2 separate regions of the Homo sapiens genome follow, and region 2 is linked to region 1. The links are contacts of gene promoters, found by promoter capture Hi-C in blood cells and fetal thymus (Javierre and others, 2016). All regions are on one chromosome and are shown on one strand. The core of a region is centred on a gene start or on the middle of the fragment in contact, and the rest is flanking DNA. Distances in the headings are between cores, read along the strand shown. Region 1 holds the start of COL19A1 (collagen type XIX alpha 1 chain). Region 2 overlaps COL19A1 (collagen type XIX alpha 1 chain).

What was found. The method cuts DNA at HindIII sites, captures the fragments that hold promoters and counts their contacts. A CHiCAGO score of 5 or more calls a contact.
Region 2: a contact is called between a fragment that was not itself captured here and the fragment with the promoter of COL19A1 in region 1, in 2 of 17 cell types (naive B cells and total B cells). The highest score is 7.2, in naive B cells.

The regions. Positions count from the first base shown.
Region 1 is chr6:69,863,551-69,868,504 of GRCh38, reverse strand. It overlaps COL19A1 (collagen type XIX alpha 1 chain), which reads right to left and starts at 1,949. Exons shown (of 51, transcript NM_001858.6): 1 at 1,865-1,949. RefSeq lists silencers at 912-981, 992-1,041, 1,262-1,311. The HindIII fragment of the contact is 9,714 bases long and covers 1-2,851 here.
Region 2 is chr6:69,907,544-69,911,805 of GRCh38, reverse strand. The region is part of intron 4 of COL19A1 (collagen type XIX alpha 1 chain); the gene reads right to left. Among named protein-coding and RNA genes, the nearest start is that of COL19A1, 43 kb to the right of the region's middle. The HindIII fragment of the contact is 4,140 bases long and covers 1-3,789 here.

The sequences.
Region 1 (4,954 bases), core at 700-3,199:
TGACAGTTACTTTCTCCACTTTCTATCCCCTAGAGAGAGCATAAATTTTCTGCCTCTGGGGGTCACCCTCCTCTTTTTCATCCTGAAGAGATATTCCTACACAAAAACCCTGTCAGCCCTCCTCAGGAAGGGGCATTTATGCATGTTTTTCACCACTGGAATACCTAAATATCTCAGCTTTGCAGGCCCATATCAAAGATCTCTCTACTTAGAGAGGGTCCTGCAAGTTTCCCACCACTCAAAAACAAGGAGATGCCAAGACCCCACATACGAGCAGGGGCTCTTTTCTTTCTTTTTTTTTTTTCCCTTTAGTCTCCTAAAGAATTATAGCAGTGTTTGATTCGGGCAGAGGGGGAGGCATTGGTGTTCTCTCCTTTTTGGGGAGGGGTGGTGGTTGAAAATAGATACTGGTGTGCGTTTGTTTCATCTCCTCCATTAACAGGCAGATGTAAATTCCCCTACAGCAGAGTGATTATCCTCACATCTTAATCCTCCTCAGACTTATCCAAGCAGAAGATGGGACTGAGTCGTCTTGGAATTGGGGATTGAGGGAGGTGGCGCAATTTATTTCCCTTACTCTTCCATCTCCCAATCTCAAGCTGTGGCCGATGATCACTCTCTTGCCTCTATTCACGGATTGTTCTATTAAAACTACTTATTATCAGCATTCTGGGCCCTCCTCTTTTTGCTCTCCAGCCCACTGTCCCCTGAGGCTGACAAGGCACGCTGGTCCCCTCTGCCTCTTCACCTTCTCATCAAATGAAGCTCCTCGGGGGCTCCTGTGGCACCCGCCTGTCCCCCAGCTCCTCTGCCCACCCTCTTGCCGGCTTCCCGCTCCCTCCGTAACCTCTAAGGGGGTTCGCTTACGCGCCCGCCTGCTCTCGGGGAGCTAGCGTGCCCGACGGCGTGCTTGGTTCCGGGCCAACAAACTTCCTCGCGACCCTGCAGCGCCCTAGCTGGGCCGCCCGGCGCCGCCTCCTGGTTCTCGGCCGCTGTGGCTGCGGCGCCGGCGCGCTCTCGGCGGTGGCCTCGGGACTCTGACAGCGGAGGCGGCAGAGGCTGGGGCCGCGTCTTCCTCGCGCCGCGACTGGGACGTTCCGGCGGCGGCGGCGGTGGCTGCAGGGAGGACTGCGGGGACGGCGGCGGCGCTGTGGCCGACCGCGCTGCGCATGCTGCAGGGTAATTAAGGAACAGGGCCGGACGCTCCGGAACGTGGTGGGGCTGGAGTCCGGGAATCCCCGCCCGCGCCCGCGCCGCCCCCCAGAAGCCGCACTTGGGAAAAACACCCACATGTGGAGTAGGTAACCCCGGGCCGGAGGGCACCGCACCGGAACCCCGCGTCTCTTAGCTTACGCCGCTTAACTGGCTGCCTCGCTTCCAGGGCTAACACCGTCAAAAAAAAAAAAAAAAAGCGCTCTAACGGCATGAATTGATAGTGAGTTTGTTTTACTCCTTTAACCCCCCATTTTTTTTGTAATGTATTTGATGTCTGTCCCTACCCGCATCAGCAGTGCTCCATAGTTCCGCTTCACAGACACACATAGCCAGAAAAACCACCTAGAACTTAGGTGTAACGCATGAAGCCTGCATCATGTGAACATAGGAACACGAACTACATGGTATGTACCACATGAGAGTGGCCGTCTCCTGCCAAACGTTTTTGGTCCCATCCTTAAGGCCCCTATGGAAACGTATGCAGGTGTGCATTATTTATCCACCTAAACATATTTCCATGTGTAGCACAGTTTTTACATTTTCTTGAAAAGCAGATGCACACAGATAACTAGGAACACGAGCAGATGACATAGCCCGGGCATGTGTGAGAGGGCAAGTGCAGAGCCGGTCGCAAAGCCGCGCAGCTTACCTTGAATTCGTATTTGAGCCCCTCAGAGGCGCAGTGGAGTCCGGACAGGGCTGCGGCACCGCCGAGGAGTGAGCTCCCTGCGAGTGGGGAAGGGGGACGCATCTCTGCCCTTATTAGTCTCTCCCAGTGTGACCCTCCCACTCCGCGAGGACAGAGGACTCTGCAAGAAGGTACTCAGCCAACTCAGGCACAGGTTTTCTTTAATGACAGCGATGTCGCCTTAGAGCTGGGAGTAATGCCTTTCAGGTTTATGTTTTACTAGCAGTTTCACAGATAAAATGACGGTTGGATGCAAATGCCTAGAGTTTCTCACTTCTGATCATGAAGTGTCTTCAAAGTATTATTGTATGTGGCAAACGTTCACGAGTAGGTAATTGGCTTTTTAACGGTTGAGCTAAGAAAATATATCATTTATGTTTCATTTTTTCACTTTTATGTCAAGAGTTTATATAAAGTTGATTAAGGCAGTCTGCCCACCTTCTAATCACGCTCATATGTAAACGTTTGTGTGGCTTGGTTTTTCTCAGTGTCCACAGAAGTATTTTGTGATTTTAAATACATCTTTCCATGGGTTGGTGCTTCCAATCTTGGCTTTTGAACTCTTTTGGGATCCCTTTGAATATGTGAAAGTGTCATTTTCCTGCAGATTTCTGTGTAGGTGCATGTATGTGTGTGTAGAGAGAGTATATATATATTTGTAGGCATATATAGTAGGTTTATATACATATATAGGAGGTATATATGGATACTTGTAGGCATATATATTTGTAGGTATATATACATATATAGTAAATTTATATGTATACATATAGTGTATGCATATGTATGTGTATATATGAAAAACAGAATGATTTATAGAATTCAGAAGAGTAAACCAGGCATTAGAAAACAGATAAACTGGTTTTACATTTTTATTTCAGTATTGCCACAGTGGGAGAAATAGGATAAATTATATTATTGATCCACAATGGTGAAAATCATCAAGCTTAAAAGTTACCTTAGAACCATAGAAATACACTTCACATATCAGAGCTCACAGATCAAGGAATAAATAAAATCAGGCAGGCAAAAAATAAAGATGTTAAGAAAAATGTTAAAAGATAGCTCCTTTCCACTTCATTGGAGTGAAACCATTAAAGTATCACTTGTGATTTTTAAACTTCTCTCTCAACCTAATCAAGATACCTGCAGTTTTAGAGTTCGGCATTCATGGTGATGCAAACCATGTTTCTATGTCAGGATTTAAAACCACTTGATACATTTCCTTCTCATATGATTTTCATCACTAATTTTTGGCTGACTGTGGAAAGAGGCCAAGGAGGGAGGATATTGCATGAGTCACGCTACTCAAATGGCCATTTGAAAAACATGATTCACAAACCTTCATTAGACTTTTGGTGATCAGTCTCTATTTTTTTGAAGTATTATCCCATTTGATTTTTTTCTTTCTCTAAGCAATTTTACTTTATATACCTTGCCATCACTAATGAATTGAACTAAGAGCATCCAGGCTTTATTTCTTTGTCAGACTATTAAATTCACCTTATTTACACTTAATTGAAACTATTTAAAGTAATGCTTTAAAACTACCTAAAAGGAAGTCCACAATTTTGTCTCTAATTTTTGTTTTAATACAAGTAAATCAAGTTTATCTTAGAATTATTTTCTTAAACATTTTAATAATTTCATAATTGTTAAGATATTTGAGAGAGCTAAACACTTATATTTTTGTTTATATTTCAAAATGGCCCTTTTCTTATTTCTAATATTGACCCAAGCAAGATTTTGGAAGAAAGTGAAAAATGAATAAATAAAACTTCAAATTATTATTATCTGTTGCTTATTCTGTTTCTAGATACACCAACATCCCCAGGGCAACAAATATTTCTCTATTTTTCTTTCAGGAAAGGGTTTGAATCTAGGCTGGTTTCATGATTACAAACTATTGTATACCTAGGGTTTGCTTCTTTAGCCAGTTCTTTTTATTGAATTTTAAAGTGACTTCAATTAGGAAGAACCTTTAGCCAAACACCTTTTATTTATCTAAGCCAAATACAATTATAAATGATCCGGTTTTCTTCTTGCTTCTGAAGCTACTGCTGGTAAACAAACATCTGAAAATATCAGGGGAATCTGACAGCACTCTAAGTTTTAATAAACAGCTTGCAGCACTTCTAACACCAAGTTCATCTGTGTGCACGTATGTACTTAAAAAATTTAACAGATTTAAAAAACGAACTTCTTTCAACATTTATGCCTAAAGGAAGATACAATTAAATGTTTTTATGTCATGTGAGGGATAAATTCCATTGAAAACATTTTAAAAAACTGTTCCATATTTGTAATGCCCCACTGATATAAATTTAACAATTTACAATGATCATTGTACCATTTTTTATAATTTGGATTTAATACATTTTTAAAATGTGTTTCTCCTAACCCTTAGTTGTCCATCTCGTCTACTTTATGTCTATTTCTTTTTTCCTTTTTTCTATACTTCTGTACTCCCAGTCATGTTGCTCTTGTTCCCTTTTGTAATGTCTTTCACTTTTCTCCCCTTTCATAGTTTCCATTTTTCAGGAAGAAAGAATTTCACCATTGCCCCCAGCTAACTTCTCAGTTACCAAACCATAAGAGTGTTCATTCTTTATTGAATTTATGGGGCACAGCTATACATGACTCCCTTACATATCCCATGGAAATACTTCAATGCGTCAATAGTGGATGAACAGACGTTACTGTTAACTGTAATTACCAAATCTGACTTGTCATCCCTAGCATGCACTTCCCATTATATTCCTTTTTAGGCCAGCACTATGTATGATATTCTTAAGGGTAAAAAGAAAGTAGTTATATCAATTCTAAATTCTGAGTAATTGCCAAAAGTAAATTAGGACATCTTTTTATTTTAAATGCTGTGTTTACCGTTGCTTCTGAAAATAATTCTCTTCATAGAGAAAATAATATTCCACTGGTTGTTTTTAGGTTTGCTTCCCTTCCTAGAAGACATTCTAGCTCATGACATTTACTCAGTTTAGAAATGAAAGGAAGAGGCGATCATAATGTGACTTTCACTTAGTTTATTAGACT
Region 2 (4,262 bases), core at 470-2,969, 44 kb before region 1:
ACTGAAGACCCAAGAGCAGGGGGATCATGGGTGGATCAAGGTCTTAGAGGAGGCTGGCTAGGAGAGGATTAAGAGCACAAGTGAAGGGGTTAACCTTTGAAAGAAGGGGGGTTGCCTCCAGGGAGAACAGCTGAAATTAAGAAATTATGAAGTAGAGAGAAGAAGTTGAGATTGTTCAAATAAGAAAAATAACTTGAACACAAAACATCTGGTCAACTCAGTCTCAAATTCAACCAGCCAGATGTTAATTCTGCATGGCATCACCACATGTGTTCATATTAACATTTTCACTGAACTTATGATGTTTCCAAATTACTTAGATATAGCCAGGGTGAAAGGAATTAATCAAGTCAATTATTTGAATATTTTATTACTTTAGTCTAAAATTATTAAAATGTCACCTAATTTGGGGGAAAAAAAAGTGTCTTAGGAAACATAAGTGCTGACCTAAATGAGATAATGAACAAGATGTAGGAAACTTACAGGAATCACATAAAATAACATAAGCATAGTTTTTCTGCTACCATGTTTATTTTCTAATTAGCATTTGTGGCTAAGTTGAAAGAATTGAAATGACAATAAAGTAATGATTTATCAGTTGGCACAATTATTCTTCCTTGGTTGACATAGATTTCAAAGTTTATTATTGAAATTATAATTATATCCTACAGTCTGACTGTGTCTGAGAAGGAGGATTAGACTATTTGATGCTATTTTGTGATACACAGAGTCCAATCAGCCTACAGAAAAATCTTTAGAGTTGTTATAAAGCTATGCTGAAGCACTAGTATAACAAAGCATCAAGCACTATTAAAGGTCAATTCTCTAATTCATAAATTTAAGACCATGCTTATTTGTAGGTTTACAACCATTATAAATCAACGCATTTGCAACCACCTAAGGATAATAACTAATTAGTCCTCAAATAGCATTTTTATGAGCCAAATTAAGATTAAAGATAAGACTGAAGTACATGCTTACATGCCTTTCTTTTGTACACTCTGAAAATCTGCAGTGTACACTGCACAGATACATTCACACAACCCTACCAGGCGAAAAGCTCTGCTGTCCCTTACAAGATTGATTCATAGGATAAAAGAATGACTGGAAAAAGAAAAAAATCTAATATATAATCCAACAATAGAGGTAGATTAATCAATGCCTATTAGACTGGCCCAAGTAATTATCAAAATAGAACACTTTAGTTTCATTACTTTATGAGAACATTTGCTTTATTATGACTCCTAAGTAGTACATTTAGCTAGTACCTCACTACTATCAAAGTAAATGGCATATAGACATAACAAGATAATTTACATGTAATTAGTCATAATAAAGTAGAAATTAATTCTGGATTTGGAGACAGAAGAACTGAGTTCTAGACACAACTGTTTATTATTTTTGAAATTTTAGGTGAATTCCTTAATGTCATTCAACCTCATTTTTCATCTATAAAATGGTGATAAAGTACTACATCACAGAAGTCATTGTGGTACCATTGATACAAGAAGGCAAAATTACTTTGTAAATCATATAACATTCATAAATGTAAGGTGGTATTATAAGAATCATTATCATTGTTGGAAACTGGGTAGTCACATGTGCCTTGTTCTTAAGTCTTCTTTGGTGAAAAGATCTAGTACAAGAATTAGAAGTAAGGTGCCTTATTTTTTGAGGTGCTGGTGAAAAGAAATTATTGGTTGCCTAAAATATGCAAGTAGCTGTACCAATAAATTTCAAATATCCCTTCAATTTAAACTTAAGATCATACCAATTCAACTAGCACTAAACACCACTGTGTGTCAGGTACCACGAGGGACACAAACATGAATCAGTTGGATGTAATCTCTACCCTGTAAGGCTTATATATCTGAACAATTTCCTGCCTGGCCAAAGAATGGGAGTTCTGATGTGAGCAATGGAGTCTAAAGAAAAATAATACCTTTCCGATTATATGATACCATATGAGAGGCCTATTACCTATTTTGAATGACCGTAGACTTTCATTAGAACTTAAGCCATCTGGATGTGGTGGGGAAAATCGTATATCAGTTCTTCAAAATTTTTGCCAGGGGCTTATGTAATGTTTGTGAGCATCAGAGAAAATCAAACTGCCTGCCACCTTGGATATGGATAAATTGGGTTGTCAATGTTTTACTCATATAGAAATTATCTCATGTAATTATATTTATTGTATTTTTCCATGTCTTAACCTCCTAGGGCCTTCCCTCACCTTAGATGTCTTTCTTCTCCCCAGAACTTGATTCATCTCTGACTCTCAGTAGTCTCTTCAGTTTTCAAAGCCTAGTTTAAATCCCATAGTCTTCAAGATATTTTTTTATCATCCCAAATATAAGAGATTTTGTCTTTATATTTGTTCCGTTGAACATTTAAAGCATTAACTGTATGCTTATAATTATAATTATAATTAAGTCTGTCTTCATTTCTTGCCCCTAAGAGGAGAGATATCACACACTCCCTAGAGGCAAGAACCGTATCTTATACCTCTTTCTGCAAACTCTTTACTAATGTTCTGTCCTGTGTTTCAACAAGACAAGTGAAAAACTACTCCTTTTTTCCTCAGAAATGAGAACCTACCCTCTTTTCCTTAGAAAGTTTATGTACATTTGAGGCTAGAAAATGGATAAGTTTGTAAATGAATTGCAGCTTCTCACTTTCATTCCATTTTATGTGAGGCTTTTTTGGGTAATTTAATTGTTAAGAATACATTCTTTGAAGGCAATAATAGTGACATTATTGTTTCTTACTATAGGAACTTTAGTTTCTTAAATGTATAAATAGATTTATGGTTTTTCCATTTTAACTCATGTGAAACACAAAAATATTTTAATTTTATAAGATTTTATCTACTAATGTCCACAAATAGACATTAAACTTAAAACATTTCTGTACCTTTTAAACAAACTTATTTCTCTCTGGCTAATAAATGAATGGTCAAGTCCAAGAAAAAACTTTAAGTCATATGAATGTTGTAGAATTTATACACATATGATTAATTACTGATATGTTCTACTTTTCCCAATACTGAGTTATATGAAATCTGAAAGAGCAAAATCACAACTTACTTAAATTTGATAATGATAACATCAAATGTTTCCAAAATCAGTAAATAACAATACTGAACTAATAATATTTCATATTACATTACATCTTAATAGCTATTTCTATACTAAGAAATTTATTGCTGCCTATTAACAATTCTGAATTTTCTAGAAAAAATAAAATAGGTGCTTTTGACTATTGAGTAGTAAATATTTGTATATGTTCTTTCCATTTAAAAAAAGTATGACTTAATGACTAACCTCAGATTCTTGGTATGCCAAACTGCAATGAAGGAAATACAGTGATGACATAATCATGTATAACAGTCATACAATCTCATAAAAACAGCTGGACAACTTTGTAACTAAGTCACCTATCCTTATATAGGAAAATTCCTATCTACACAATGAAGGAATGCCCCAAATGAAAACCCAAGGGATGCATAAATAGGCATTCTCTAGAGCTTAATGGAATTGTAAAGTAATCCTTCTAAAACACTCAGCAAGGAGACACTTCGATATCAGAGTTCTGAACAAGTTTTCAGCCTCTGAATTTGTTTTGAGAACTTGGAGAGGACTCAAAGGAGAACTATGCATTACAAAATAGTCCCTCAAAATAGTCCCTTAAGAGGCAAGGAATGAAAACATTGAAAATTAGCCTTGTGCATGATGCTTAAGGAAGTTTAGCCTTTATAAGGGGTGAAATTTGAGTCATGCAGTCTAAGCTTGAACAATAGAAGGCAATACATCTCAGTTGCCTTCTATGAAGGCAAAGCAAGGGGGAAGTGTAGCTTTTCCTTGCACTGTGTATCTTTCTAGCAGGTTCCAGGAAGGAAAGACTAGATCCACATTCTTTTATCAATGTAAGCTCAGAACCTAGCAAAGTGCCTGGCCCATGGTGACACTCAACAAATGCTTGCTGAGTAAAAGGATAAGCTCTAGACTAGACTGCATTCATTTCAGTGACTTACCGAATGCTACCTCTTATTCACCCTTTAGCAAAACAGAAACATTTTAGGAACTTCTGTGAAAATTATACAGTAAACTACAGCTTCTATTTGTAACTGCACAAGTTTTAAGTTAAATAAAACACAAAATCTTAACATGATAATTCCTAGTGCTACAGAAGATATTGGAAAATATGCAGAATACATGGAGAAAACAATGATTGAACATAATTAGTAGTATATATCAAGATCC